Linked DNA regions of Homo sapiens: all the other regions are linked to region 1. Evidence: promoter capture Hi-C in 16 types of primary human blood cells and fetal thymus (Javierre and others, 2016). All regions are on one chromosome and are shown on one strand. Each heading gives the region's core, a stretch centred on a gene start or on the middle of the fragment in contact. The rest is flanking DNA. Distances are from core to core; before and after follow the strand shown. Region 1 holds the start of FAM83A-AS1 (FAM83A antisense RNA 1). Region 2 overlaps ANXA13 (annexin A13). Region 3 overlaps LOC107986904 (a long non-coding RNA gene). Region 4 overlaps ANXA13 (annexin A13). Region 5 overlaps LOC107986904 (a long non-coding RNA gene). Region 6 overlaps ZHX2 (zinc fingers and homeoboxes 2).

Evidence for each region. The method cuts DNA at HindIII sites, captures the fragments that hold promoters and counts their contacts. A CHiCAGO score of 5 or more calls a contact.
Region 2: a contact is called between a fragment that was not itself captured here and the fragment with the promoter of FAM83A-AS1 in region 1, in 2 of 17 cell types (total CD4 T cells and fetal thymus). The highest score is 7.1, in total CD4 T cells.
Region 3: a contact is called between a fragment that was not itself captured here and the fragment with the promoter of FAM83A-AS1 in region 1, in 4 of 17 cell types (total CD4 T cells, total B cells, naive CD4 T cells and 1 more). The highest score is 6.8, in total CD4 T cells.
Region 4: a fragment that was not itself captured here is called in contact with the fragment with the promoter of FAM83A-AS1 in region 1 in 1 of 17 cell types (naive CD8 T cells); the score reaches 5.8 in naive CD8 T cells.
Region 5: a fragment that was not itself captured here is called in contact with the fragment with the promoter of FAM83A-AS1 in region 1 in 13 of 17 cell types (total CD4 T cells, naive CD4 T cells, activated CD4 T cells and 10 more); the score reaches 11.4 in total CD4 T cells.
Region 6: a contact is called between a fragment that was not itself captured here and the fragment with the promoter of FAM83A-AS1 in region 1, in 1 of 17 cell types (total CD4 T cells). The highest score is 5.6, in total CD4 T cells.

What each region holds. Positions count from the first base shown.
Region 1 is chr8:123,200,727-123,204,360 of GRCh38, forward strand. It overlaps FAM83A-AS1 (FAM83A antisense RNA 1), which reads right to left and starts at 2,017. Exons shown (of 3, transcript NR_024479.1): 1 at 1,482-2,017; 2 at 918-1,256; 3 at 446-728. All of the region lies in intron 3 of FAM83A (family with sequence similarity 83 member A), which reads left to right. The HindIII fragment of the contact is 13,090 bases long and covers 1-3,634 here.
Region 2 is chr8:123,701,344-123,704,977 of GRCh38, forward strand. It overlaps ANXA13 (annexin A13), which reads right to left. Exons shown (of 11, transcript NM_004306.4): 3 at 1,299-1,393. Among named protein-coding and RNA genes, the nearest start is that of ANXA13, 34 kb to the right of the region's middle. The HindIII fragment of the contact is 1,118 bases long and covers 1,273-2,390 here.
Region 3 is chr8:122,709,463-122,713,096 of GRCh38, forward strand. All of the region lies in intron 1 of LOC107986904 (a long non-coding RNA gene), which reads right to left. Among named protein-coding and RNA genes, the nearest start is that of LINC01151, 17 kb to the left of the region's middle. The HindIII fragment of the contact is 5,357 bases long and covers 1-3,634 here.
Region 4 is chr8:123,683,099-123,686,732 of GRCh38, forward strand. It overlaps ANXA13 (annexin A13), which reads right to left. Exons shown (of 11, transcript NM_004306.4): 10 at 1,512-1,624. Among named protein-coding and RNA genes, the nearest start is that of KLHL38, 31 kb to the left of the region's middle. The HindIII fragment of the contact is 5,117 bases long and covers 1-3,634 here.
Region 5 is chr8:122,727,504-122,731,137 of GRCh38, forward strand. All of the region lies in intron 1 of LOC107986904 (a long non-coding RNA gene), which reads right to left. Among named protein-coding and RNA genes, the nearest start is that of LINC01151, 35 kb to the left of the region's middle. The HindIII fragment of the contact is 3,615 bases long and covers 1-3,485 here.
Region 6 is chr8:122,818,907-122,822,540 of GRCh38, forward strand. All of the region lies in intron 1 of ZHX2 (zinc fingers and homeoboxes 2), which reads left to right. Among named protein-coding and RNA genes, the nearest start is that of ZHX2, 39 kb to the left of the region's middle. The HindIII fragment of the contact is 249 bases long and covers 1,573-1,821 here.

The DNA.
Region 1 (3,634 bases), core at 767-3,266:
GTGAATCACCTGAGGTCAGGAGTTCGAGGCCAGCCTGGCCAACATGGCAAAACCCTGTCTCTACTAAAAATACAAAAAATTAGCCAGATGTGGTGGTGGGTGCCTGTAATTCCAGCTACTTGGGAGGCTGAGGCAGTAGAATTGCTTGAACCTGGGAGGCAGAGGTTGCAGTGAGCCGAGATCCACTCTAGCCTAGGTGACAGAGCAAGACTCTGTCTCAAACAAATAAACAAAAAAAAAAAATATATATATATATATACACATATATACAAAAAAAAAATTAGCTGGTGTGGTGGCACGTGCCTGTCATCTTGGCTACTAGGGAGGGTGAGGCAGGAGAATTACTTGAACCTGGGAGGTGGAAGTTGTAGTGAGCCAAGATGCACTCCAGCCTGGGCGACAGAGTGAGACTGTCTCAAAAAAAAACAGAAACAAAAACAAAAACAGACTTTAATAAGGATTTAATCTTTATGACAACACTTTGAAGAAGGCATCATCCTCCTAATTGACAGAAGTGGGGTGGGGGATTTAGGCACAGAGAGGGGAGGCAACTGATCCAGGGTCACCAGCTTCCTTGACTAGGGTCACCAGCTCTCCAATCCCTGTGAAGCTGAGGGCTGGGCTTGTTAGCCTGATGTGCAGCCCAGGAGGAAGGCTGCCACAGCCGGAATACATGCAGGGCCGTCTGTGTTTACTGTCATTCCTGAGAGCTGTGGAGGAGCCAGCTCCTGGAGGGAGAACAGGACACCAACAGTGATTTTGCCCTTGACATTCAAAGGTGACCTGCTTACTAGCCTTTCAGGGGATCATCTTCACTGGGACCAGTCTCCCCTTAGAGTTGTTTCCAGTAAAAACAAAAACAAACAAAGAAAAAAAACCAGAAGAGGCCATTTATCCCTTTCTTTTAGCCCCGCTACCTGGGGGCTTCAGATATTTTGGCCCCTTCTTCTGGTTGTATATGGTTCTCCCAAACTGAAGAGCCCTGCTTCCTCCGCTGAGGCTAGAGGGCTGAGGTTGTGCATTTCAACACTGAAGGGCTGGTTGAGGGTCTGACCCCAGCATAGGTGCCATGCCAGGGCCATCAAGAAAAATTGCTGAGTGGCCAGAGTGGATTGGTGTGTGTGCTCTGAGATCAGCAGGAGCTAAGGAAGTGCTCTGGGGTCAGCTGAGAGGGAGCCACCACTTCTGCCTAGCAGGTCCAGGAGGTCGGTGCCATTGGCTGGAGTTGGGCCTTGAAGGATGAGAATTATTCAGCCCTGGTGGGGAAGAGGCAGGCAAAATTGGGCATTGGGAACAGGATGGGGAACAACAGCAAGACATCATCCTGGCTTCTAATTGGCCTCCTGCCCCGCCCCCACTGCCATCCATGGGTTTTCTCTCCCAGGAACAGAAACACAAACCAGATCAAACCACTTTAAAATCCTTCAGTACTCGCCACTGCTCCTAGGAACAACAACAACAACAAAAATCTACATCCTTACCAGGGCCTCTATCTCAGTAGGATCCCCCCACTCCTCCACTGTGTTGGAGCCACACTGGCCGCTTCCTCAGTCTTTCATGCTCTTTCGAGTCGCAGGGCCTTTGCACTTGCTGTTCATGCCCTCCGTCGGAGAGCTCATTCCTGCTGTCTCTATCTTGCTTACTCTTTATCTTGTAGGTGGCAGCTTCCAGATCATTGCCTCAGAGACCTCTGATCACCACCCCGAGCCCTCTTATCCTCTATGGCTTCACTCCCATCATGATTTGGAATTATTTATTTGTGAACTTGATTAGCCGAGATTGTAAATGACATGAGGTCAGGGACTGGACTGGGTATGTTTTCTTCTCTGTTGCTTTCCTGGCATGAAGTACAGTAAATACAGCACCTGATACATTATACATGGCCACAAATATTTGTTGAATGAATGAATAAAAGCACATTGGGTTCTGACCATTCAGTGTCCTGAAAGAATGCAGTTTTTCAAACTGTGCCTCACCATCCATTAGCGGGGTGTGAAATCAATTTAGTAGATGATGTCTAGCATTTTTTTTAAATGACACGGAATAGAATAAAAATAATCAGACCACGCTGAGGTAAAGGATGTTCTGGAAATTATTGTGTGGTTATGTACTTGTGGGTCATGATGTTAAATGTGCTTTTCCAAGAATAGCCAAGATAAATCCGAAAAAGAAAAACAAGCAGGGACGACTTGCCCTACCAGAGTTCAGAACTTGTCATGAAACTGCAGTAATCAAGACAATGTGTCATTGGAGGAGGGACAAATTGACACACAGAACAGAAAGCTCAGGCACATATTCACACACCACAGGGCATGACAGAGCAGTGGGGAAAGGAGGAACTGGAAAAAATAACTCCCCGTATGTAAAATGGGATTACTACCCACCATGCACGCATTTGTTTACAAATCGACTTGCAATAGTTGAAAAGAATTTGAATGTTGAAAATAAACTAAAACTCTCAGTAGATTTCTTTAAAAGGAAAACATACACACATTAAAAAAAAAAAAGCAGTGACCATAAAAGTTTGCTTAATCTGACTATATTACAATTAAGAATGTTGGTTCATTGAAAGACATCTTGGCTGGGTGCGGTGGTTCACATCTGTAATCCCAGCACCTTGGGAGGCAGAGGAAGGTGGATCACCTGAGGTCAAGAGTTCAAGACCAGCCTGGCCAACATGGTAAAATCCTGTCTCTACTAAAAATACAAAAATTAGCCGAGTGTGGTGGCACGTGCCTGTAGTCCCAACTACTCGGGAGGCTGAGGTGGGAGGATCACTTGAATCCAGGAGGCAGAGGTTGCAGTGAGCTGAGATCAAGCCACTGCACTCCAGCCTGGGGGACAGAATGAGATCTGTCTCAAAAAAAAAAAAAAAAAAAAAAGTAAGAAAAGAAAAGAAAAAAAGAAAGACATCTTAAAGGAAGTGAAAAGTCAGTTACAAACTGGAAGCAGCTATTCAAGATGCACACCCCTGACAGAGATTAGTGCTGAGACTCACAAGAGCACAAGAGCACAGCAGAAAAGTGGGTGGGAGACATAAGCAGGCGTTTCACCAAAGAGGCAACATATGGTTAAAAAAACAAAACAAAAAATTAGCCAGCATTGTTGTAACCCCAGTTACTTAGGAGGCTGAGGCAGAAGAAGCGCTTGAACCCAGGAGGCAGAGGTTGCAGTGAGCCGAGATCACGCCACTGCACTCCAGCCTGGGCAACAAGAGTGAAACTCCAACTCAAAAAAAAAAAAAAAAAGGACAAAAAAAAATTCTATAATTATGGAAAAAGGAAAGCAAGGGCGTTATGATCACAGGATTCATGATGTGCTGAGTTCTAGTTCAGGGGTCCTGGGAAAGGGATGCAAGAAGGGACCCTATGGCTAGATGTGGACTATCCTCAAGATGCTACCTTGGCCAGGTGTGGTGGCTCATGCCTGTAATCTCAGCACTTCGGGAGGCCAAGCAGGGAGGATCACTTGAAGCCAGGAGTTCAAGACCAGTCTGGGCAACATAGCAAGATCCCATCTCTGCCCCCAAAAAAATTTTTTTAAGAGAAAAAATTTTTAAAAAAGATGTGACCTTTTCTTTTAGGTAGTGGGTTCATAAGTGCTTACTATATTACTTAAAATCACCAATTAAATA
Region 2 (3,634 bases), core at 582-3,081, 500 kb after region 1:
CCTGTAATCCCAGCTACTCAGGAGGCTGAGGCAGGAGAATCGCTTGAACCCGGGAGGCAGAGGTTACAGTGAGCCAAGATTATGCCACTACACTCCAGCCTGGGCAACAGAGTGAGACTCCGTCTCAAAACAAAACAAAACAACAACAACAAAAAAAACCACACACACATTCAGCTTCATGCATTCAATTAAATGCAGTTGAACTGAAGATGCACTTATTTTCATCAAAAATTACATTGACGCACCTAATAGTAAGGAGAGAAGCAGAAAAAGCACAAAAGCACAGCCATTTGGGCCATTTAGTGTACAAGCAAATAGCTCTATTTATGGCACTGGGTCCTCCAGGAATGGATACTGTTCTTGAAGTCAGGAGACTTGGATGTGAGACTTGGATGTGAGTCCTGGTTCTCTTTTTTTTTTTTAGGTGTGTGATTTTGTAAAATGGAAACAATCATAGCTATCATAGCTTTTTCCTGTATTGGTACATGCTGGCATTATCCTGACTGATTCTCCCAGCAACCTGAGAAGGGAGCTAAGTTATCATCTTCTTTCTATCCATGAAAAGACCAAGGCCTGAAGCAATTGTTACCTGCTCAGTATCAAATAAATAGGAAAACCCATCTTCATCTTTCTATATATCTATTTATACCTACAGTGATTGAAATGGTAAAAGTTTGAAAAATATAAATGAGAATACAGCATAATAATTGATATTCATTTTGCATAATGATAATTCTAATGACATTAAGAAAAGTTTAAGTTGTGTTCATTACATATTAATAAAGAAATAAGAAAGCCTAATGCATACTTGAAGACTTCTCTCTATAAAATTATTTTCAACAATAAAAAGAATGAAAGAAAAGAAAGAAAATGTAAAGAAAAATAGGTGTTGATAGCTTAATAAAATGGAGAGTTTTTTTGGTAGTTTTCTGTAACAATCGCTTATGAAAAATTCCTGTATAAAGACCCACTTGTGGAAACTGATTTTCAAATTACTGATCTAGCTACATATGTACAGTTAGTCCCAATTAAGTGAAAAAAAGACTAGGGTCTTCATAGAAAAATGAAGTCAATTTAAGAAATGAGTTTAAGAGTATTGATTTTACAGGCTATTGAGTTAACAAAGCAATTTCAGTTTTTCTGAACTCCATTAATGCTTTTAAGTGGTTATTTCACTTTTCCTCCTGGGCTGACTCAATAAAGCTATAAAGATATTCTGCGTGGCCTGGGGACATGAGGAAGCCGAGACGGCTGAGGCCATGGCTGGGTGCAAGCTTGCTGACCACCCCTGGAATCACCTTGCCGTACGTTGCCTTGTACTTTTGCTTGATTTGTTGCCTCTCATCTGATGTCCTGCCCGATAAGATTTCAATGATGGCTGCTTCATTGGTCCCTAAAATACAGGAGAAACAAACAAAGCCACAGTGAATAAGAAACAAGGTGGAAGTTTATTTTAGTCCAGGGTGAGGAAGCCAGGACTCACAGCTTAAAGGTGGTTGGAGGTGTCTATGGAACCCAACGGACCCTTAGCTTTGATGCCTTGTGCTGAAAACTGTATTCTTTTCATTCACTTAGACAAATAGCCATTGAGGCCTCACAGCACATGGCACACAGTGCTAGGCATTGTGGTGGAAAGAGGAACGAGTATGGCTGGTTCCTTAATTTTATTCCTAGGGAAATGAAAACATATGTCCACCCAACAATTGCATGTGAATGTTCATAGCAGCATTACTCATAATAGCTCAAACGTGGAAGCAGCCCCAGTGTTCATCACCTGAAGATGAATAAACAAAATATGGGGTATCCATACAATGGAATGTTATTTGGCCAGAAAAAGGAATAAATTACTGATAGATGTTATAACATGGATGAACCTTGAGAACATTATGCTAAGTGAAAGAAGTCAATCATAGCAGATCACATGTTATATAATTCCATTCGTATGAAAGTCCGGAACAGGAGAATATACAGAGGCTGGAAGTATACTAGTGGCTGGGGGTGGGTGGGCTGCCTAGGGGGATGGTAGCTGGAGTCCAGGGCTGCTTTTTGAAGTGATGAAAATGTTCTAAAATTGACTGTGGTGGTGGTTGCATGCATCTGTGAGTATAATAAAAACTGTTGAATTGAACACTTTAAATGGGTGAATTATATGGTGCATGAATTATATCTCAATTAAAATGTTTTAAAAAACAAAAAGGAAAAAGATGGCCTGTTCCTTGGCCTCTGGGTGCTTACAATTGCATGAACAAGATTAGGATATAGGCTGAAACTGTTACAATATTAACCCCACCCATACATTTGTTAATCTCAGGAGAGAAGTCTTGATTGAAACCATGAAGGGAGGTTGCCCCTTTTAACTCCTATTACCTTTAGATTATGTTATTTTTAGAAGCTTTTTTACCCCTGATGCTCAAAGTAATACAAGCTCATGGCAGCAATTTGATCAGTACTGAAAACTATAGTGAATAAGAAAGAAGGGGAGAATGTCCTTGTTTGAACCAGGAACCAGGATCGGAAAGATGACACAGGTATTTCCAGTGTGCGAATAAGAAAGACGGTTTTACCATCAAACCCCACATTAGATTTATTCAGGTTGGACTCAAATCACAGCTCCACCCTGTACCGACTGCATGACATTGGGCAAGTGATTTTTCTTGCCAAGTCTCAGTTTTCCCACCTCTAAGATGAGGGTAATAGTATACAAGGCTATTGTGAGAATGAAATGCGAGAATCCAAGTGTGGGTCCAGTCCGCGGTGGTCCTAAGCACGCACGTGGGAAACCCGGGACACCAGGGGATGTAAATGACCACGCGCCTGGCACTGCCTCACATCCATGCAGGGTGTGCACAGGGACCACCCTCCATGAACTGCTCACCCCAGTGATCGAGCTCGGTGGGATCAAGGCACAGCAGTCAGCAATCTCTGGAGCTGGAGGAAATGTTAGAGACTATCTAGTCCAAGCTCTTCTTTACAGAAGAGGAAGCTGAGGCACAATGCAGCACCTCTTCTCGGTTCCTGCATGTACCTGACTGTTCTGCAGCATTTGAATTCTGCAGTCGGGAATTATTTTTTTTTTTTGAGACAGGGTCTGGCTATGTCACCCAGGCTAGAGCGCAGTGGCATGATCACTGCAACCTCCACCTCCTGGGTTCAAACAATTCTCCTGCCTCAGCCTCCCGAGTAGCTGGGATTACAGGCACCCACCACCATGCCCAACTAATTTTTGTATTTTTAGTAGAGATGGGGTTTCACCATGTTGGTCAGGCTGGTCTCAAACTCCTGGCCTCAGGTGATCCACCTGCCTCAGCCTCTTAAAGTGCTAGGATGACAGGCATGAGCCACCGCACCCGGCCTGCGGTTGACAATTCTTTGCGTGAAACACCTTCCTAGATGGCTTTGTACCTCCTTTCCCAGTCTTTCCTTTCTCCTCTCCATCACCTCCCTCTCAGGGTTCTTGATTGGCCTGTATTCTTCCACTGGCCTTTTAAACTCGATTTTCAGTTCTCCTCTCTATTGGAGTCACTCCTTTCCCAGGCGACTTTCGCCCTTTGACTGATGACTCCAGGATCAGCGCCTCTAGCCCTAATCTCTCCTCTGAGTTCAGATCTTATTTCCAGCTGCCTGTAGTCAACTT
Region 3 (3,634 bases), core at 631-3,130, 490 kb before region 1:
CATTCCCTCAAAATGCCTATCTGTTGAAACAGCATCTGGAGGAACACCACTGCTTTAGTTTCCTGTTGCTGCTGTAACATATTATCACAACCTTAGTGGCTTAAAGCAACACATATTTATTATCTTACAGCTCTGGAGGTCAGAAATCTGCAATGGGTCTCACTGTGCTAAAATTGAATGTCAAATGGGCAGTGTTCTTTCTGTAGGGGATAATCTGTTTCCTCGCCTTTTCCAGCTTTCAGAGGCCACCTGCACATCTTGGCTCATGGCCTCTTCCTCCATATTCTAAGTCTGCCATCACATCACTCCAACTTTTACTCCCATCCTCCAATCTTCTATTTTTTTTCTTTTTTGAGATAGAGTCTTGCTCCCCTTCCCAGGCTGGAATACAGTAGCATGATCTCAGCACACTGCAACCTCCACCTCCTGGGTTCAAGTGATTCTCATGCCTCAGCCTTCAGAGTAGGCATTCTTGTGCCTCAGCCTCCAGATCCCAGGCCTGGGATCACAGACGTGTGCCACTATGCCCAGCTAATTTTTTTTTCTTTTGTAGTTTTGGCAGAGACAGGGTTTCACCATGTTGGCCAGGCTGGTCTCGAACTCCTGACCTCAAGTGATCTGCCCACCTCAGCCTCCCAACAGGCTTGAGCCACCGCACCTGACCCCAATCTCCTTTTCTGACTCTGACTCTTCTACTTCCCTCTTTTACTTATAAGGACACTTATGATTTCACTAGACCCACTCAGAAAATCCAGGACAATCTCCTCATCTCAAGATCCTTAGCTTAATCCCATCTGCAAAGTCCTTTTTTCTGTGTAAGGTAACACTCACAGGTTCCAAGAATTAGGATGTGGCCATCTTTGAGGGCCATTACTCTACTTATTACAACTATTTTTTAGTATAAAGTAAGACAAATTAATATTAAGCCTGGAAATGAAGACTGAGGCCATATCAAAATAAAGAACCTGGACTTCTCCAGTTAAGAAACAGGCAGAATTTATTTACTTTTGAAGTGGTACATTCACATGTCTTAACATTTGAAAGCTGTCATAAGGTACTGAGTAGAAATTTTCCCCTGTTCCCCAGCCATCCAGTTTCCCTCTCTGGAGCCAACAAATGTTACTTACCACTCTTTAATGTATTATTTTAGACATTATTCATATCTATATATTTTTACATTTTTACACAAATGGTAGCATAGTATAAAAAATTATTTGTAACTTTCTATTTTGGCCTCAACAATATAAATTTGTAGATCATCCCACAGCAAAATGAAAAGACCTTCTTTATTCATCTCTGTGGATACATAGTATTTGATTTTATAGACCACTGGTTCTCAACATGGTTGTTTATTAGAATGACATGGGAGGATCTTGGAAAATCCCCAGGAGTTCCAGTTATCTATTTTTCTGTAATAAACCACCCCAAAACTTAGAAGCATAAAACCATAATCATTTTATTATGCTTGAAATTTTTGGAGTCAATAATTTGGTCAGGGTATAGTAGGGACAACTTGTCTCTGCTCCACAGTGACTGAGGCCCTCAGCTATGGTGGTTGAGATGGCAGGAGTGGCTCAGTTAGAGCTATATATATGGGGCCCTGGTTCTACAGCAGCTGAAGTCCTTGGTGATTGTCTATATCACGTCTGCTGGTGGTGCAATGTCCAAGAACGCTTCTGATATGGTTTGGCTGTGTCCCCATCCAAATCTCAACTTGAACTGTATCTCCCAGAATTCCTACATGTTGTGGGAGGGACCCAGGAAGAGATACTTGAATCATGGGGGCCAGTCTTTCCCATGCTGTTCTAGTGACAGTTAGTAAGTCTCATGAGATCTGATGGGTTTATCAGGGGTTTCCGCTTTTGCTTCTTCCTCATTTTGTCTTGCCACCACCATGTAATAAGAAGTGCCTTTCATCTCCCGACATGATTCCGAGGTTTCCCCAGTCATGTGGAAATCTAAGTCCAATTAAACCATTTTTCCTTCTCAGTCTTGGGTATGTCTTTATCAGTAGCATAAAAATAGACTACTACAGTAAACTGGTACCAGTAGAATGGGGTGTTGCTGAAAAGATACCCAAAAATGTGGAAGCGACTTTGGAACTGGGTAACAGGCAAAGTTTGGAACAGTTTGGAAGGCTCAGAAGAAGACAGGAAAATGTGGGAAAGTTTGGAACCTCCTACAGACTCGTTGAATGGCTTTGCCCAAAATGCTAATAGCGATATGGACAATAAGGTCCAGGCCAAGGTGGTCTCAGATGGACACGAAAAACTAGTTGGGAACTGGAGTAAAGGTAACTCTTGCTGTGTTTTAGCAAAGAGACTGATGGCATTTTGCCTCTGCCCTAGAGATTTGTGGAACTTTGAAAGATAATTTAGGGTATCTGGTGGAAGAAATTTCTTTTTCCTTTTTTTTTTTTTTTTTTTTGAGACGGACTTTTGCTCTTGTTGCCCAGGCTGTAGTGCAATGGCACAATCTCGGCTCACCGCAACCTCTGCCTCTAGAGTTCAAGCAATTCTCCTGCCTCAGCCTCCCAAGTAGTTGGGATTACAGGTATGCACCACCAAGCCCAGCTAACTTTGTATTTTCAGTAGAGACGGGGTTTCCCCATGTTGGTCAGGCTGGTCTCAAACTCCCGACCTCAGGTGATCCGCCCGCCTTGGCCTCCCAAAGTGCTGGGATCACAGGCATAAGCCACCGTGCCCAGCCAGGCGGAAGAAATTTTTAAGCAGCAAAGCATTCAAGAGGTGACTTGGGTTCTGTTAAAGGCATTCTATTTTATAAGGAAAGCAGAGCATAAAAGTTTGGAAAATGTGCAGCCTGACTATGAGATAGAAAAGAAAAACCCATTTTCTGGAGAGAAATTCAAGCCAGCTGCAGAATTTTGCTAAGTAGCAAGGAGCCTAATGTTAATCCCCAAGACCATGGAGAAATGTCTTCAGGCCATGTCAGAGACCTTCATGGCAGCCCCTCCCATCACAGAGGCCTCCTCCTCCCAGAGGCCCAGGAGGAAAAAGTGCTTTCATGAGCCAGGCCCAGGGTCCCTGTGCTGTGTGCAGCCTAGGGACCTGTGTCCCAGCCGCTCCAGCCGTGGCTGAAAGGAGCCAGCATAGAACTCAGGCTGCATCTTCAGAGGGTGGAAGCCCCTAGCCTTGGCAGCTTCCACATGGTGTTGAGACTGCAGGTGCACAGAAGTACAGAATTGAGGTTTGGGGACCTCTGCCTAGATTTCAGAGGATGTATGGAAATGCCTGGATGCCCAGGCAAAAGTTTGCTGCAGGTACAGGGCCCTCATGGAGAGCCTCTGCTAGGGCAATGCAGAAGGGAAATGGGGAGTCGGAGCCCCCACTCAGAGTCCCTACTGGGCACTGCCTAATGGAGCTGTGAGAAGAGGGCCACCATCCTCCAGACCCCAGAATGGTAGATCCACTGACAGTTTGCACTGTGTGCCTGGAAAAGCCACAGATACTAAATGCCAGCCCATGAAAGCAGCCAGGAGGGAGGCTGTACCCTGCAAGGCCACAGGGGCAGAGCTGCCCAAGACATGGGAACCAGCCTCTTGCATCAGTGTGATCTGGATGTGAGACCTGGAGTCAAAGGAGATCATTTTGGAGCCTTAAAATGTGACTGCCCC
Region 4 (3,634 bases), core at 453-2,952, 480 kb after region 1:
CAGAAGACCTGGAGAGAAAGGAGGGAGAGGGATTTGGAGCCATGGAGGAGAGAGGCAGAGGCATGGCAGGAGCAGAGCAGAGAGACTGGCAAAGGGAAAGAGGGGAGAGAGAGAGACATGGCCTTCAATAGAAAAAGATGAGTTGTGGAGGAGGAGAAAGGAGGGGAGGAGAAATTCCAGGAATAGAAATAAAAAAGCAAGAACCATCTTGTTGCAAAGTTATATTTAAAAACAGTGTCAGATGTTAAGCATTATTTGTTAAGAAGCCATGGATCAGAATTTGGGTTGGTGTCCCTCCCCCTTCACCTCCCCCTTCATTTAACCACTTTTTTTTTTTTTTTTTGAGGGAAGATGTCTGTGGTTTTCAAGTGCTTAGTTCCACTTCATTCCCCAAGGCTTCTCCTGCTGCCGATGAAATGCCACTTCCCCTTTATTTTGTACCACCTTCTGTCTGTGGCCCCATATCCCGAACTGTTAGCTGTGACCTTTTTTTTTTTTTTTTTTTTGAGACCGAGTCTCGCTCTGTTACTCAGACTGGAGTGTAGTGGCACCATCTTGGCTCACTGCAACCTCCACCTTCTGGGTTCAAGCAATTCTCATGCCTCAGCCTCCTGAGTAGCTGGGACTACAAGTGTGTGCCACCATGCCCAGCTAATTTTTGTATTTTTAGTAGTGACGGGGTTTCACCATGTTGGCCAGGCCGGTCTCGAACTCCTGACCTCAGGCGATCCACCCACCTCGGCCTCCCAAAGTGCTGGGATTACAGGCATGAGCCATTGCACCCGACCAGCTGTGATCTTGACGGCTGCTCCCAAGCCGTTGGCTCTTCCTCTCCCTTTTCTTTCTTATACATACACATTCTCCGAGAGCAAGCACAAATTGGTTTTTAGGGGGTGAAAAAGCCCTTAATTTTTTTATGTATAAAGCACTGATATCCACATGGTATATAAACAGATTTGTAGTATTATCTCTGGTGTTAACATTTCTTGTGGGGAAGGGATGGCAATGAAGAAACACGTGTCTAAAAAGGTTCCTTAGAACAGCAATAGTTTTTAAAAAGATTGAGAACCATTGCCTTATGCTGATGTGCTTGCTTCTGCAGTGTGTTCAGTTAAGGAAAGGCCTCACTCAGGAATTCAGAAATCATTCTCTTTTTGTTCCTGCTGCTGGTTGACCTCTTTCAAGTGTGTTTGTTTTGTCTTCCTTAACATGGAGCCATGCATAGCTGCAGCCCCTGAGAACTGCTCGACATGGTTGCCTCTGCGCCCCTCCACTAGCTCTCCAGAGCCACAGAGGACAAAAAAAGAAGCAACGATCATTATTGTATTTTTATAAAAAGAAACAGATTGAAGCAGAGCACAATGTCTTCTGCAAATTCTGGGAAGGCAAGGGGCCGTCTCTGTTTTACTTTTTCTGTAAATAGGCCCTTAATAGAAACTATTTGTTGATGACATCAGTGGTGGAAAAAAGAGAAGTTGCAGCCGCCTCTTTGGAGTCGGAGTGTGTCTTACCTCGGCCCTGGTCACGACTATGCGAATCAACGTCTCCTCATCGGTCCCCGCACCCTTCATCGACTTGTACAGACGTTCAGCAAAATAGTCCTCACAATCCTGGGCACATCTCACTGGGCAGGACAAAGGAAAAGAGAATGTGAGGCTTTCACGTTTTGTGGAATGACCTTGGGACCCCCCTAAATGTCACCTGGCTGCCCTTCGAGCTGACTGGATGGTGAGACAGAGGTGTGAAAAGAGCTGACTTGACACCGTTGCGAAATGAGATTTGGAAGATTCCCTGGTCAGAGCACCTGGAATCTTCAAGCATAGCTCCCCTCCTGTCCCCTGAAGACCCTCTAGAGGAGAGCTGTGGCATCCTCGGGCCCTCCCGGCCACGTCCATGATTCTCGTTATTTCCCAGCAGAAATAACTTTCCCTATCGAGTGAAATCTCTGGTGCTGTCCTAGGGTTCTGAAGGGAAACAGATTGGCCAGCAACCTTCTGGAACAAAACTTCATCATCTTGACAATGTATCCAGTTGGACAGCCGCCTGCTCTCCTATGCTCAACAACCTCCCTACTCTTTGTTTTTCCTCACTGGGGTTGTTTTGCAAGCCTCATCTCTGAACCTTTTCCAGGTTCCCCACGATCTTTTGGTTTGCAATCCGGGATGTGGACTTGATGAAATGTTTGATCCTTTTTAAAGATCACTTTCCTACGATGCTGCTATTTGCTCTTTCCTGGCTTCCCCTTGCCTTCCAGCTTTGATCTATCTACAGCTTAATGAAGCGTGGTCTCTATTCATCAAGCAGGTGACAGGGTGCATCTCTTCTCCTGGGAATAAATCATTCCTTCCCCTCTTCCCAGGCTCATATGAATCCATCATGGCTAACACGTTAGAGGAAAAAAAAAATATTTGCCCTTTAGGCTGTTAACATTTCTCTAGAACACTTGATGATGTTAGTGATTAACAGTAAGTGATTATTTCAGCATAAATGTGGAATGTGCAATCTTACTATGTCCCATAATGGGGCTGTTGTTGTCTAGGGGACTGTCTGTGTGATTGATGCTTATAAGCAGGGGAGAGGAGCAGAGTTCGGGAAGGAGAGTCTAGTTTGGGGACCAGCCGCCTTTTACAGGCCATGTGGCAGCTGCCACAGTTTCAGTGGAAAAGAAAATCGCACCGGAAAAGAAACAATGTCTGGCCTCTTTCTCCTGAGAACAACCCAAAAGCTGCTGGATTGGTGGTTCAGGGGAAACTTGCATGCTATTCTGGGGAGTAGCATATTCAAGACTTACTGTGATCCCCAGACAATTTGAGCTAATGAGCACCACAAAGTTTTCCTGAAAATCCTCTTCCATACAGCACGGCTTGATGTGGGGATCATTGTCTGCCTGAAGTCACCGTGTTCCGCTCCTGCACAGGGATCTTCTCCCTTGACATTCCTTCTACCTGATATTTCAGGAAGAAAACTCTCAACATTTCTCCTGTCTATAATCTATGCTTGGGGAACAACCTCTGTTGTTAGCAGCAGCAGGAATCTCTCAAAAGGCTGGGCAGGGATAGCCAAAGAAGATGTGGAATAAAATTATTCACTGCAGCCAGGCATGGTGGCTCACACCTGTAATCCCAGCGCTTTGGGAGGCCGAGGTGGGTGGATCATTTGAGGTCAGGAGTTCGAGACCAGCCTGGCCAACATGGTGAAACTCCGTCTCTACTAATAACATAAAAATTAGCCAGGCTTGGTAATCCCAGTTACTTGAGAAGCTGAGGCATGAGAACCACTTGAACCCGGGAGGCAGAGGTTGCAGTAAGCCAAGATTGCACCACTGCACTCTAACCTGGGTGACAGAGTGAAACTGTGTCTTAAAAAAAAAAAAAAGAAAGAAAGAAAGAAAGAAAAAAACCTCTTCACAGCAAATGGCAGGAAAGGCAGCCAGCCCGGTGCTCTATATCTTGCTCCCCTTTGCCTTCAGAGTGAGTTCCTGAACTTCAGTGAGTATAACACAGTCACTTGGACAGTTTGTAGAAGTGTGGCTTCCCAGGCTCCCTTCCTGGAGGTTCTCAATGGGAACCTGGAGTGGGGCCCAGGAACCTGCATTGTAACAGGTGATTCCAAGGTAGGGGGTCCATAGACCTCA
Region 5 (3,634 bases), core at 428-2,927, 470 kb before region 1:
GATTTCCACTGAAGACTGCCTGAGTCCAAAGACAATGACTCTTTCTACCCTCATCATTCTCTCCCCCAAGTAAAATTTTAATAAGATTGAAGATAAGAGAAAGGGGAAAGAAAAAAAAATCTAAAAATAGGGTGTCACTGGATAAGACAAGGCTGGTCTGGGTGAGACATGATAGGAGAGGGCTCTGTAGGCAGCAAGAAACCGTAGATATCCCAAGCTGTTCATGGCACCAAGAAAAATGGGACAAAACCACCAAAGGGGGGTGGAGTGTCATCTAACCCTGTCAATGTTTCCTGAGCCTAGTCCTGCTCTCAAGGATGTCTCACATCCAAAGTTAACTCAATGGGCCATATTCCTATCAGACACTGGACTGTGACTTGGAACATCATGCCCATCAGCTCGAGTTTGAGAGCCTCTCAGCGTAGTTAATCTTCATCTTCTTTCTGGCTTCCAGACTGACTATATTCAGCTGTGAGAATAAACTGACATCACGGTAACCAGCCTTTCCTTATTTCCACAAGTCATTTCTCTCTTCTCTGTGACTGCTTGGCTCTCTAAGCTCGGCAGCCCATCTGGTTGAAGGGATATCCTGCTGCTTACAGCCTCCTCTGGGACTGCTCAAAGACAAGAGAAACCCTATCCATTTATACTCCCCTGTGTTTGCTCCATGGAACTGAATTTTATTTAAGCATCACATTTGTAGAAGGAAAAGGCATTTGTGTGTTTTCTTTCTTGATTGTATTTTTCAGCAACAAGATGCCCAATAAATTAAAGCAATCCTCAGAAGGAAAACTTCAAAACCAAAATCTCCCAAGCACCGTGTGCTCCCAAAGTCATAGAGCGTCTTTTAGTGAGTATCGGAAAATAAGGAGAGCTGGAAGAGGCCCTAGGAATCATCTCTTAGAAGGGGAAGCTGAAGCCCAAAATGGGGGATTGACTTGCCCCATGTCATGGCACAAGGCAGTGCTAGAAGTGGGACCAGAATATGGGTGCTTTGGCCTCATGTCCCCAGATGGTGTTTTGCTGGGCAGGGGCTGCATGCTGAGGAAAGACAGAAGAACATCACATTGAAGGTTGAAGGAGGCTTTCATGGGCCTGGAAGAAAGTAAAACTGGTGCCAAAGAAAACAGCGTATTTAAAACTGCAGGCTTAGCTTCAACAGTGATGAAAACAAAGTGATCTTTGCTATTTACCAACCCATCACTCCCAAGTTGACTAATGCAAGGGCCACCATATTGCACAACTCTAGGAGGCTCAACTCATACTGTCCTGTTAACCCGTATTTTAGAAAAGCAGAAAAATAAGAGCTCAACAAATATTAGCTATCCTTTTTCTTGTTTTGTATTAACAGCTAGAACCAAAGGCAATTATTGACAAGTACAGTATTCACTAAAATCAAACAGTCACCTAAGAACAACCCAGGCCTGGTGCAGTGGCTCAGGCCTGTAATCCCAGCACTTTGGGAGGCCCAGGTGGGTGGATCACTGGAGATCAGAAGTTCAAGACCAGCCTGGCCAACATGATGAAACCCCGTCTCTATAAAAATACAAAAAAAATTAGCTGGGTGTGATGGTGGGTGCCCATAATCCCAGCTACTTGGGAGGCTGAGGCGGGAGAATTGCTTGAACCCAGGAAGCGGAGGTTGCAGTGAGCTGAGATCGTGCCATTGCACTCCAGCCTGGGCAATAGAGCAAGACTCCATCTCAAAAAAAAAAAAAAAAGGGAAAGAAAAGAAAAGAAAAAGAACAACCCAAGAAATTTGGCTCTCAAGATTCGAAAGAATGAATGTATAAAATCGAGTAGATCAAAAAGATGTCTAAAAGAGGACATTCAGCAAGACTGATTAAGCACTCACGGGTGTTAGCTATGTGGTAGGTAGCATTGTTGTAAGTATTTTACACGTGTTCATCCTCTCAACAACTCAATGACAGAGGTACTGTTGTTAAGGCCCATTTTACAGATGAGGAAACTGAGATGAGGAGTCATCCAGTAACCGGCAAGTCACATGGCCAACAAGCGGCAAAGGGTGATTCAAAGGCAGCAATCACCTCTCAACACTGCATCCTTGACTACTTGCAGCATGGCTCTTTATGTTATTTGCTCCTGAGAGTTGGGGGGCAGTTGAGTCCTGCTCCATTTCCCTCAAATCACCGCAGTTGACCTACATGAAGTTTGTAATGGGGCCGACAGTGAGGAAGGGATCTGGCTCAAGCATAGGAGGACCCTTAAGGGGAGGCAGACCACTACAACTCTGGGAAATCTAGGAAGGATTGGTGGCATCCTTAAGGAAGCACAGGCCAGAGCCCCTCAGCATCACAGTGGGCATTCAGAGGGAGGCCCTGGGCCTCTGGGAGCTCTACACTTACCCCCACATCCATCCCTGCTTCAGGCATATAGAGTTAAAAAAAAAAGAAAAGAAAAGAAAATTAAGATCCTCCCCAAGAGGCCAACAGAAAATATTCAAAGTAACTCAAAACCTCCTCCAGCCTTTCTGAACCCAGTAGAGTTAGGAGATATTTTTAATTCATCCCACTCTGTAACCTTGAGCAATTTACCTAATCTCTTGAGTTTTAGTTTCTTCATCTCTATAAAATAAAGTTCACACTTACCATATATGTGTGTGTGTGTGTGTGTGTGTGTGTGTGTGTGTGTTAGAAATTAAATTTGACATAATTGGTGGAAAAGGCTTAGCACAATGCTTGCCAACTGGTAGAAGACCAATAAATAATAGCTTTCATCTACCCTTTTGGGACAGAAAAGGACGCTGTTAGGTTCCTATAAAACATTTATTTTTCATTATTTACCAATAAGCCCTTAATTTCAGGGCTACAATATGCCCAGAAAACAAGATCACCTCCCCAGACACCTTCGCAGTTAGGGTGGGCACATTTCAGTTCTGGCAGATGAAATGTAAGGAGAAGACTATTTGGGAAGCAGAGGGGTATCTTCCAGGAAATCTGTTGCTTCCCTAAAAATTGGAGAAACAGACTCAGCTAGCATTTCCTTTGACCTATGACCCTTCCTCTTCCTCCTATTTGAAGGTGCAGCGGCCATCTTGCCACCATAAGGACAAAACCACAGGCTGATCACAGGAATAGAGAAGAATCTTGGGTCCTAAATAACATCCTCTGATTATTACACCAATTCTACATTTCCTGCATCTTGACTAGTTGTGTTAGAAAAATAGACCCCTAAAAGGTGTTCCATTATTTGTAGCTGAACACATTCCTAACTGGTATTTACCAATCCCAGTTTTATATATTGAAATAGAAGAAAGTATAGCAATTCTGGGGTGTTCGTCCAAGGTCACATAATGAATTGATTGGTGGCAAAGTCATGCCTGCTGAGTATCTGAGTCTTAAATTTCCAACCCCAAAACTCTCCAAATAGATTACATTTCCACAATTATTGTATCTATGTCAAGAATCAGAATGATCAGTGTTATAAAGCATTTAGGTGCAAGACAATTGTGCTGGTATATAGGAAGCTTTCTTCTAGAAATTTAAGTAGTCAAAATATATTTTTGAAAATCATGGATTTTATTTAATCTGTGCAAGCGGACTTTTCAATCTGGGGGCAAATCACACATGAAGCTTACAAAAGGAACTGTTAATCTACGGAACCCAGCTCCATC
Region 6 (3,634 bases), core at 447-2,946, 380 kb before region 1:
GGAGCCAAAGGAGAGAATCAGGAACCCATCTCAGGCAGCAGCAAGCTCGCAGATAGACCGCGTCCTTAGCCATAGGACCACAGCAAGAGTGAAGATTTTTTGTGGGTCTAGTTTGTTCTAGATGCTCAGGGGAGAAGAGAACGAAGAGAGAAGGCATTAAGACTCAGCCTCCATCTGCAAGGAGCTGAAGGCCTTCTTGAAGGCCAGATGGGAGGCCAGTGCATGAGAAGACAGTGGTTAGACCCAAAGTAACAATGAAGACCCCAGGCAACTGAGAAGAGCCAGTGCCTGCAGTGGGAAGGCTGGGAGTGAGACCGGGATCTGCCACCTACCCACGAGGTCACCTTGAGCAGGCTGCCTGACCACTCTGCACCTCTGTTTCCTCACCTACAGAATGGCACTCTCCCACCAGAGCCTTATGAGATGCTCCATGCTAAATGCATGGCATAGAGTAAGCATGCCAGCAGTCCAGACCGTTATTCCCAGCATGCGTGCTCACAGTAGATGCTCTCCATCCTCAGGAGGAGATACAAAGATGGCCATAGAAGGCTTTTTAGAAGAAGGACTTGAACTTGGTTTGAAAGGAGGAGAAAAAGATTACCTGGGAACAAGAGTGTTCCTGATGTTCAAGTGGCCAGACTGGGACACATCTGCTTCCACTGCAGTCAGTTCCTAAGGAGGTTTTCCAGGCACTATCCAAGAAACCAAAGTAGAATTGCCCGCATGAAATTGGAGGGGGTGTCCTGCTCCATGGGGACCCCAGCTCATTTTTGGCCTCAGCCTGGCCCCACAGGCATCGGCATAGAAAGGACAAAGTTGACGAGAGCCCAGACTGGGCACTCCACTGGGTCAGGCCCTTCCTTTGCCTCCAGGCTTGGCTTCCAGAAGGCAGTGAAGTGGTTACATCCAAATACCCACAAGAGGCCGGACACCTTTCTCTCCCGTATCCTTAATATATGCTAATCAAAGCTGAGAGCCTGCAGAAAATATCTGCTTGGCCAAAGCCCCACACCCTCGCCTTGGCTGGGCTGCCCACCCTCCCCAGGCCTCCCCTCCCATCTGCCTAGCTAAAGGCGTCCATAAATCCAGCTTTCAGAGCTCTCAGGGGTTGGCGAGACTGCCATGGACCTCAGTCACATCACGATGGAAACAATTGAAAACCACTTGGCAAAAAGAAGGGGTGATCTAATGTTTGATAGCAAGAATACATTTTTTTTTCCTTGCCATTCTTACTCAAACCCAGGGGGAAAAGCCGGCTGCTCTCCAGTCCCTGTCAGATCAGTACCCCCAGGGTCCCTGACTCTTGTCCTCTGTCCCAGAGGAAGTCCAGGCTGTGGGGCTGGCTGTGGCCTCCTCGCAGGCCAGGGAGGAGCAGAGCTGGCCCTGCCTTTCTGACTGGCCAGGCTGCCTTGGGCCCCTCAGAGGCGAGGAGATGGCCACAGGGGCCTGTGGAGAAGCCCATATATAGAGCCTGGGGAATGTGGGCCTCTGGCAGGCGGCCTGGAAAAAATGGCCGTGTTCTGAGGGTGAACGCCGCCGAATTATAAATAGCACCCGCCTCCCTCCCCTTCAAGCTTGCTGTGTCTGTCACTGGAGAGTTGACAGTTAAAATTCAAGAGGACTGAACAGGACAAGGGAGCGGGAGCGGGGGATGGGGGAGATGCCGGATTGTGCAGGAAGCTCAGCTGCTGTCTTGGGATTGATACGGAGAATAGTCACCAGACGACGGGGCTGAGAGAGGGATGCATTTGGGGTGGCAGAATGACTCCTGATTTTATGCATTTTTATAAGCTGAATAAGAATGGAAGGAAAACTAAAGGAAGCTTCAACTCCACGAGATGGTTTTATGGGTGCTTTAGAGCCTTTAAAAATAATAAGAATAAAAATCAGCTGTCTCCGAATATTAAAGGTGTCTCTCTGGTTCCGAAAGGTCAGCCACCCTGGCTTCCAAATCAAAGCCAACGGCCAGGTGCCCACACAGGCCCGTGCCTTGAGCCTCCTGCCAAAAGGTTTCTTAGTGTGTTTTTATGTCTCCCTGACATGGAAGCAGCAGGGATGTTTCCCCAGCCCCTAAAACCTCTGCACATTGTGCTCACCCAGCAGAGGGTGATGATTCAGGAGGAGTCAGAAATAAAGAAAGGAAGGAGTGTGCAGCCCTCGCCATGGAAAGCCACACAGCCGTTCACATCTGGGTAGCAGTGAGGGGTGGGCAATGTTCTCGCGAATTCTAGATTCTGGAGGAGGGGTGCGCTGGTTCTGCAGGGACCAGGAGTCCCTCTTTGTGTCCTTGGATCTGCTGGCAACTCCTGGGAACCAGCTGCCAGGCTTCCTGACTTGCTGCCCAGCCCTGCATGGACGGGAACTAGAGTTCTGCTGGGCGCTGGGATGGGATACAATGGAGGTGCCTAGGGGCTTGTTGGGGGCTGGGCCAGCTCCGTGGGCATCTGTGCCTCCTCTGTGAGCAGGCTAAGCTATAGTAAGGGCTTATCTCCTTTGTTTTAACAGTTGGGGCTTTGGCTTCCATAGCAATGATTTGCAAATAGGGTAATTTATTGGCTTCTCTCCTCCTGCCTTGATAAATCTCATATCTTACATCCTTTGGAGCCTCATTTGAAATCAAACACTTAAAAAAAAAAAAAAAGGAGCACTCATGCCTTTGTTATCTTTTGGACACTTCTCAAAAGAAGATCCCTGGACCCCATAGGATGCAGGCAACACAGAGATGTGAGGTGAGAGCGGGTAGACATTAGAACTTGACACACAGTGATGCTACAGGCATGACTTTATTTATTTATTTATTTATTTATTTATTTATTTAGAGACAGAGTCTCAGTCTCACCCAGGCTGGAGTGCGGTGGCGCGATCTCGGCTCACTGCAACCTCCAACTCCTGGTTTCAAGTGATTCTCATGCCTCAGCCTCCCGAGTAGCTGGGATTACAGGCATGTGCCACCACGCCTGGCTAATTTTTGTATTTTTAGTAGAGACAGAGTTTCCCCAGGTTGGCCAGGCTGGTCTTGAACTCCTAACTTCAGGTGATCCACCCTCCTTGGTCTCCCAAAGTGCTGGGATTACAGGTATGAGCCACCGTGCCCAGCCTAGTGTGACTTTAAAAGTGTGCTTCTAGGAGCCCTATTGAGAGAGGATGCCTCGGAGGCCCAACAGTAAGGGGACTTCCAGACCCTGGCTCCTATGTCAAGCAAAGCAGCTCTACTCTTACTGCTATTAGGTATTAGATTGCATTTTGAAAAAATGAATTTCATGCCTTAAAATGCTTGGAAACCAGTATCATAACTTACCCCACGATTTTAGTGCTAAGTGAACGAAGGCCCAGCGAGTGAAGGGGATTTTCTGAAGGTCAAGACCTCCACTTGGGTTGCTGCTGTGATGGCGGCTCTTGTTTTGGGAAGGGAAATCCCAGAGGTTGGAACCAAAAGGGACCTGAGAGAGCATTTTATCAACCCCCTTCCTTCAAAACTGAGGCCCAGGGAACAGTGGGATTTGCTCAAGGACCAGCGAGTAGCAGACCTCAGACTTGAAGCCATCTCATAGGAGGCATGCTCGTAAAAGGAGGCCTGATGTGCTATAAAAACTGCAAATGGCAGGATTTACCCTGATGGAGACAGCTTCCCGGA